Linked DNA regions of Homo sapiens: region 2 is linked to region 1. The links are contacts of gene promoters, found by promoter capture Hi-C in blood cells and fetal thymus (Javierre and others, 2016). All regions are on one chromosome and are shown on one strand. The core of a region is centred on a gene start or on the middle of the fragment in contact, and the rest is flanking DNA. Distances in the headings are between cores, read along the strand shown. Region 1 holds the start of ABCA9-AS1 (ABCA9 antisense RNA 1). Region 2 has its middle 150 kb from the start of LINC01482.

Evidence for each region. Contacts are between HindIII fragments. The CHiCAGO score rates a contact against its expected background, and 5 or more counts as called.
Region 2: a fragment that was not itself captured here is called in contact with the fragment with the promoter of ABCA9-AS1 in region 1 in 1 of 17 cell types (M2 macrophages); the score reaches 5.6 in M2 macrophages.

Annotation. Positions count from the first base shown.
Region 1 is chr17:69,002,852-69,007,022 of GRCh38, forward strand. It overlaps ABCA9-AS1 (ABCA9 antisense RNA 1), which reads left to right and starts at 1,863. Exons shown (of 4, transcript NR_126414.1): 1 at 1,863-1,942. The region is part of intron 25 of ABCA9 (ATP binding cassette subfamily A member 9); the gene reads right to left. The HindIII fragment of the contact is 13,565 bases long and covers 526-4,171 here.
Region 2 is chr17:68,779,187-68,783,554 of GRCh38, forward strand. No RefSeq gene overlaps it. Among named protein-coding and RNA genes, the nearest start is that of LINC01482, 150 kb to the left of the region's middle. The HindIII fragment of the contact is 5,949 bases long and covers 90-4,368 here.

The DNA of each region.
Region 1 (4,171 bases), core at 613-3,112:
ATCCCTTTACCATTATGTAATGGCCTTCTTTGTCTCTTTTGATCTTTGTTGGTTTAAAGTCTGTTTTATCAGAGACTAGGATTGCAACCCCTGCCTTTTTTTGTTTTCCATTTGCTTGGTAGATCTTCCTCCATCCTTTTATTTTGAGCCTATGTGGGTCTCTGCATGTGAGATAGGTTTCCTGAATACAGCACACTGATGGGTCTTGACTCTTTATCCAGTTTGCCAGTCTGTGTCTTTTAATTGGAGCATTTAGTCCATTTACATTTAAAGTTAATAGTGTTATGTGTGAATTTGGTCCTGTCATTATGATGTTAGCTGGTTATTTTGCTCGTTAGTTGATGCAGTTTCTTCCTAGTCTCGATGGTCTTTACATTTTGGCATGATTTTGCAGAGGCTGGTACCAGTTGTTCCTTTCCATATTTAGCACTTCCTTCAGGAGCTCTTTTAGGGCAGGCCTGGTGGTGACAAAATCTCTCAGCATTTGCTTGTCTGTAAAGGATTTTATTTCTCCTTCACTTATGAAGCTTAGTTTGGCTGGATATGAAATTCTGGGTTGAAAATTCTTTTCTTTAAGAATGTTGAATATTGGCCCCCACTCTCTTCTGGCTTGTAGGGTTTCTGCCGAGAGATCCACTGTTAGTCTGATGGGCTTCCCTTTGAGGGTAACCCGACCTTTCTCTCTGGCTGCCCTTAACATTTTTTCCTTCATTTCAACTTTGGTGAATCTGACAATTATGTGTCTTGGAGTTGCTCTTCTCGAGGAGTATCTTTGTGGCGTTCTCTGTATTTCCTGAATCTGAACGTTGGCCTGCCTTGCTAGATTGGGGAAATTCTCCTGGATACTATCCTGCAGAGTGTTTTCCAACTTGGTTCCATTCTCCCCATCACTTTCAGGTACACCAATCAGACGTAGATTTGGTCTTTTCACATAGTCCCATATTTCTTGGAGGTTTTGCTGATTTCTTTTTATTCTTTTTTCTCTAAACTTCCCTTCTCGCTTCATTTCATTCATTTCATCTTCCATCGCTGATACCCTTTCTTCCAGTTGATCACGTGGGCTCCTGAGGCTTCTGCATTCTTCACGTAGTTCTCGAGCCTTGGTTTTCAGCTCTATCAGCTCCTTTAAGCACTTCTCTGTATTCGTTATTCTAGTTATACTTTCTTCTAAATTTTTTTCAAAGTTTTCAACTTCTTTGCCTTTGGTTTGCATGTCTTCCCGTAGCTCAGAGTAATTTGATCGTCTGAAGCCTTCTTCTCTCAGCTTGTCAAAGTCATTCTCCATCCAGCTTTGTTCCGTTGCTGGTGAGGAGCTGCACTCCTTTGGAGGAGGAGAGGCGCTCTGATTTTTAGAGTTTCCAGTTTTTCTGTTCTGTTTTTTCCCCATCTTTGTGGTTTTATCTACTTTTGGTCTTTGATGATGGTGATGTACAGATGGGGTTTTTGGTGTGGATGTCCTTTCTGTTTGTTAGTTTTCCTTCTAACGGACAGGACCCTGAGCTGCAGGTCTGTTGGAGTACCCTGCAGTGTGAGGTGTCAGTGTGCCCCTGCTGGAGGGTGCCTCCCAGTTAGGCTGCTCAGGGGTCAGGGACCCACTTGAGGAGGCAGTCTGCCCGTTCTCAGATCTCCAGCTGCGTACTGGGAGAACCACTGCTTTCTTCAAAGCTGTCAGACAGGGACATTTAAGTCTGCAGAGGTTACTGCTGTCTTTTTGTTTGTCTGTGCCCTGCCCCCAGAGGTGGAGCCTACAGAGGCAGGTAGGCCTCCTTGAGCTGTGGTGGGCTCCACCCAGTTCGAGCTTCCCAGCTGCTTTGTTTACCTAAGCAAGCCTGGGCAATGGCAGGCGCCCCTCCCCCAGCCTCGCTGCCGCCTTGCAGTTTGATCTCAGACTGCTGTGCTAGCAATCAGCGAGACTCCGTGGGCGTAGGACCCTCTGAGCCAGGTGGGGGATATAATCTCGTGGTGCGCCGTTTTTTAAGCCCGTCGGAAAAGTGCAGTATTCGGGTGGGAGTGACCCGATTTTCCCGATTTTCCAGGTGCCGTCTGTCACCCCTTTCTTTGATTAAGAAAGGGAACTCCCTGACCCCTTGCGCTTCCCGAGTGAGGCAATGCCTCGCCCTGCTTCGGCTCGTGCATGGTGCGCGCACCCACTGACCTGCGCCCACTGTCTGGCACTCCCTAGTGAGATGAACCCGCTACCTCAGATGGAAATGCAGAAATCACCCGTCTTCTGCGTCGCTCAGGCTGGGAGCTGTAGACCGGAGCTGTTCCTATTCGGCCATCTTGGCTCGTCCCTCCTGGCTTATCTTTTTCTCTGAGTAATATTTTGATGTAGGGCCTTGCTTTCTATCAGTACCTTTGAAGCCTGGAGGCCTAGATGCATACAGCGTCCTCAGCTTAGGCTGTGTGTAGCCTTATTGCTTTCTCCTTTAGGTCATGTCCAGTGTTCTGCACCAGTTTTCACCCTACCTAGTAGGCAGTGAATCTCATTGTCAAGGGGTGGGCACCCTATTAGACGTTGGGCCACAGTCCAATTCAGTCCAGAGCCCTGTAAAATAGCAAACCTCAGCATCCCACCTCTCCAGGTGAAGCATTCTTCTCTCAAGGGTTTTTATTTACCTGTGCTAGGATGTTAACTCAGTCACTCATGTATACCTTTTTAGAGCCAATTATTAGCATTTTATCAACTAAGTTTTCCTCATCAAAATTGCTTGTTGAGGATGGAAGTAGACTTAGGAAAAGCTCCGTATCAGGGACTTCGTTCCTTGGCCACCACATTTCCACTTCGGTTTTCTTTGTTTCGTTCTACCCTGCTCTACGAACAAAGAGGTTCTCTGTCTACATACCTAATCAAATATAACTTGTATGATGTTTAATTTAAATTTCTACATGCTGGCTTATTTTTTTTTCCAACTAATCTTCTAGTTCTGAAACAGGTGATTTAAGTTCCACTTGGATCTTTGGAGAGGATTGTGTGATGTATTTTGCTGTTGTGTATTATTTGCTAAACAAATAAGGAGACTTCCATTTTCTGCATGGATTTTGCATTTTGTCAACATATTTCTTTCCTTATTTAAGACTTTAGGTCTAGAACTTGACTTCATCTGCTATTTGGGCAGCCATTTCTAATTTCCTCATTTTAAAAATGCCTGTTAAGTCATTGCCCATGACTTAGATGTGTTTATTTTAACAAACATATAGCTAATTTTTTTAACCCAGTCTGGAAGTCATTGTCTTTTCTTCTTATTTTCTAATTTGTATTTACTCATGGTATTTTATTTTAGTTTCTTTCAAATGTGAGGCATCCCCCATATCATCCCCTGGAATTCTCATACTCTGTGGGTGGTTCCACCTCTTTGAAAAACTGTTTGGCAAGATCAACTAAAGTTGAACATAAAGTTGAATACATTGTGACCTAGTAATTCCACTGCTAGGTTTACATCTCAAGATATACACACACATGCAACAAAAGACATACAAGAACAAGAAAGTTCATGGCAGTGTTATTTATAGCAGTTCAAAACAAGAAGCCACTTGAATGTCCATCAACAATGAATAAATAAATTATAGCACATTCATCAGTAGACTATTACAGCAATGAAAAGGAATAAACTATTCTGGTTGTTATCAAATGCAACAGCATGGATGATTCTAAATAACCTATTGTCGATTATATACAGATATATAATTATGCCTTCTACATGATTCCATTTTTATTAAGTTCAGAAACTGGCTACATTACCTATGTTAATATAATAGGAGTAATGATTTTTACAAGGAGGAGGGAAATTGGAAATGGGATGGAAGGGGGCTTCTAGGGTTCTAGTATTGTTCTATTTATTGATGTACCTGGTAGTTTTGGGGAAGTGCTCAAAAAAACTACCAGACACATCAATAAATAGAACATTACTAGGTGTGCTTAAAATGTGTGAACTTTTCTATAATGTAGGCTATACTTTTCAACTAAAATTTATTTTGAAAAGATCTCATTGGATATTATATAGAAAATAGTTCACAGGAGGCAAGAGTAGAAACAGAGAGACCAGTTACAGATATGTTGCGCTACTCTAGGTGACAGAGTATGAAAGCATAGGCAATGGATAGAGCAGTGAAGTTGGGACACATCAGGCAGACTGGGAAATGTCTAGAGTTTAAATGACATGCATGTGGA
Region 2 (4,368 bases), core at 1,814-4,313, 220 kb before region 1:
TGGGGGTTCGCCGTGTTGCCCAGGCTGGTCTTGATCTCCTGGGCTCAAGCAATCCTTCCACCTTAGCCTCCCAAAGTGCTGGGATTATAAGCTTAAGCCACCATGCCCAACCCAAGACATGACTTTTGAGCCCTTAACCCCTTTGGGATACTGTTTGTTTATTTGTAGGTCTTGTTGTCCCTTCTGTGACTTTCTGAGACTTGCAATTACTCATTGGACATTTGCCTTCCCCGTTAGACTCCTGCTCTGTGAGGGTGGAGGCCAGGTCTTTTCTGTTTATCACAGACCTCCAGAGCCTTGCTTGGTTCCCAGCATGGTGCAGCTGTTTAATTGATGAAATAATGAATCTCCAAAATGGGATTAATTATAGCTTCTCTTCTTCTTTCATAGGATTGTTGTGTGAAACAAACAACACAATGCATGTAAAAGTACTCTGTCGTGCTAAAACATCATGCTGATGCCATTACCAAGAGATTCATTGCATATCAAAAGTCATATTGTTGATTAGCATGGAATGCAAAACTCTCCATCCATTCATTGATTCATTGGTTCATTATTTATTTAAAAGCTACTATGTGCTCACGTAATGTATTTTAAAGTCCTTTTTTCTCTAAGTTTCCCTGGTTTTCATCCCTCCTGTTGTGTGTAGATCCAGAGCCACAGACTCACTGCTTCATGCTTCTAGGTTCAGAGCCAAATTCTACCCATTAGCTGACAGAAAACATACTTTCTGCTTCTTGAGAATTTGCACATTGCCAGACCCTGAGTCTCCCTGCTCCTAAGCCACGGTCAGGGGTGCTATGTCAGTACCCCTGATGGGTAGAGTGTAACCTTACAATAAATGCTGCTCTTCATAGAGAGATGTCTACTAGTGCTCTTTAATACTTAGTCCCTCAACAGTGGGCAGTGTGGTCCAGGAATCTTTCCTTATCAGTGATGATCAATGATAATCACATTCAGTTATTTGATCATGTTCCTGCCTTAACTTTTACCCTGGAGGACAGAGACATGTAACTGGACCCATGGAATAGGCTCAGGGTCTTATAAGATGGCAAAGCATGGAAGTTTTATACACGGACCCTGGGGTCAGATTCATCTTTGTTCCAGTCCTACCTTCACTGTTCAATATTTAGGAACCTCTGATAAGTTACCCAAAGCATTTGTTTCCTCATTGTGAATAAGAAATAACAAATGTGTACAATAAGGTAGTATGTAGAATAGGGTAATTGTGAAGATTAAAATTAAATACTGCACTTAAGTAATTTAGCATAGTGCCTGGCATACAATAAGTTCTCAATAAATAATAATAAAAGAGAAGCATCAAAGAAGGAGCTTCTGGTTTCTGGTGTCTCAATGCCTGGGAGTTTCCACGGGTCCCAGGAAACAGGTTTATTATTAAGAACATCAAGCACCATCCTTCCACTAGTGCAAGGCTTCTGAACAGAGGCGCTATTGATATTTTGAGCTGGATAATTCTTTGCTCTGGGTAGCTGCCCTGTTTAGATTGTTGCTGGCCTTTCTACACCACATACCAGTAGCATCACCCTCTGCACTGCCCAAGTTGGGACAATCAAAAATATTTCCAGACATTGCCAAATGTTCCCTGGGAGGCAAAATCCCTCCTGGCTGGGAATGTCTCCATTAGACCAGAAACAGATTGCTGAAACATGGCTTGAACATATTGTAACATATTCAGCTGTTCGTGTGCTTCTAGATCAATACTACAATTTTTTATTTTTATTTTTTGTCCCCTCTATTGCCGCAATACTGAAAAACACGCCATTACATATGAACATAACAACTAAATATATACTTAATAATAACAATAAAAGCAAATATTGAATAAGAATTATTAAAATATTTTATATTGTAAATTTATCCTGGAATTATAAAATAGATGCAGTCCCTTATAGAATATTATCAATTTTTAAAAGCATTTTTGTTATTTTGTTTTTTATATTTAAATATTTTATGTAATTTATTTTGGTGTAGAGTGTGAGGTCTGGATCCGCCTTATTTATTTATTTTTTTAGATGGTTAAACTTTGTCTTAACACTACTTGTTGAATAATCTGTGTTTTCCTAGCTAACTTGAAATGGCGTTGTATCCTATTAAAAAAATTCTCCTGTTTCCCTGGTCTGTTTCTGGGCTTTCTGGTTCATTCTATTGATGTCTACTTATGGATGTTCCAGCTGGTGACTGCTGTTTTAGTGATTTGTTGAGCACTTACTGTTCTCTGTGTGTGGTTTTATCTTATTTTTATTTTTTTGAAAAACTTAAGATATAAATCTCTTACCCTAAAACTCACTATTTTAATGTACATGATTCAGTGGTTTTTAATATATTCAAAATGTTGTACAACTATCATTATTGTCTAATTACTGGACCTTTCCATCACCTCAAAAGGTTAGCAGTCGCTCTCAACTCTCCCCTAACACCACCAGTCCCCCTACCAGTAACTCACAACCACTAATCTTTGTGGTTCCATAGATTTGCCTATTTAGAACATTTTAGATAAACGGAATCACACCATATATAGCCTTTGTATTTGGCTTCTTTCACTTAGCATAAGATTTTCAAAGTTCATCTACATTTTAGCATGTATCAGCACTTCATTCCTTTTTATGGTGCAGTAATATTCCATTGAATGATTATGCCACAGTTTGTTTATGCATTCATCAATTAGTAGATATTTGTGTTGTTTGTACTTTTTGGTTATTATGAATAATGCTGTTATGAACATTTACGTGCAAACTTTTGTTTGAGCACACATTTTCAATTCTCTTGGATTCATATCCAGTAGTGGAATTGCTGGACCACATGGTAAATCTTAACATTTTGAGGAGGCACCAGACTGTTTACCACAGTGTTGAACCATTTTACATTCTGACTAGAAAGGCATGAAGACTTCAATACATCCACATATTCACCAACATTATTTTCTGTTTTTATTTATTTGTTGTTTTTATTATTGTTGTTGTTTATAGCCATCCTAGTTGGTATGAAGTTGTATCTGATTGTGGTTTTGATTTGCATTTCTCTAATGTCTAATAATATTGAGCATCTTCTTATGTGCCTATTGGACATTTGTATATCTTGTTTAGACTAATGTCTATTCAAATCTTTTGTGTATTTTAAAATTGGGCTATTTATCTTCTTATGTCAAGTTTCAAATTTTAAAAAATATATTCTAGATATTAGACCCTTATTATATGTTTGATTTACAAATATTTTCTCTTATTCTGTGCATTCTTTGTTCACTTCTTTGATAGTGTTCACTGACACACAAAAGTTTTTAATTTTGATGAAGTTCAGCTTGTCAGTTTCTCCTTGTTTGTGCTTTCGGTATAATGTTTAAGAAAGGTAACTAAGATTTACACCTATATTCCTTTTTAAGAGATTTCTAGCTTTACCTCTTACATTTACATTTTGGGTCCATTTTGAGTTAACTTTTGTATATGGTGTGAGGTAGGGGTCCAATTTTATTCTTTTTCATATGGATATCTTAAGCTGCCCTCTCGTCTTGTACTTTTGTGTTGAGAAAAGGTCTATCAGAGTCTTGGCAACTAAGCAATTTTCAAATTAGGAATCTGATTACTTAAATTCAGTATTAAACATGTGTAGCTGGAACCATGATTTGGATGCCAATTTTTATGAAACAGACTCTCATTCTTACAAACCCCAAGGACTCTTAAATCATCATGATGGCTTTTCTGTATAGAATTCTGAGGCTTCAGATGATGTGCCAGTGGAGGAGCCATTGGCTAGGACAGAGACATCTTTTAGGCAGATGGAGATTTTGGCTGAAATGGCATTTGAATAATGGAATGCGGCTTGCAGGGATCTTGCAACATTGAGTCCTGGGACTGAAGAGGGATAATGTAATGACATGGTCAGTTCATGGCCCAAGTTCAGGGAGGGCAGCAGGCTTTCCTCTGGGGAGTGTCTCTCTTCTTTCCTGCATGCCATAGGCACTTAAAAATATGAGACATATCAGACTCAGAAACATGCTAAAAATTCCACCATTTCCAGAAAAGGAGATGCAGAGATTAAAGTGAGTGGCATTAAGAGATTTTATTCTTATTCAGTAATAGGTAAGCGCGCTCTCTCTCTCCCTTTTATTTTTTATTTCATTTTATTTTTTAATATTAATTTTTTTTGAGACAGAGTCTTGCTCTGTCACCCAGGCTGGAGTGCAGTGGCATGATCTTAGCTCACTGCAACCTCCGCCTCTTGGGTTCAAGCAATTCTCATGCCTCAGCCTCCCAAGTAACTGGGATTACAGGCATGTGCCACCATGCTCGGCTAATTTTTTTTTGTATTTTTAGCAGAGACAAGGTTTCACCATGTTGCTCAGGCTGTTCTCAA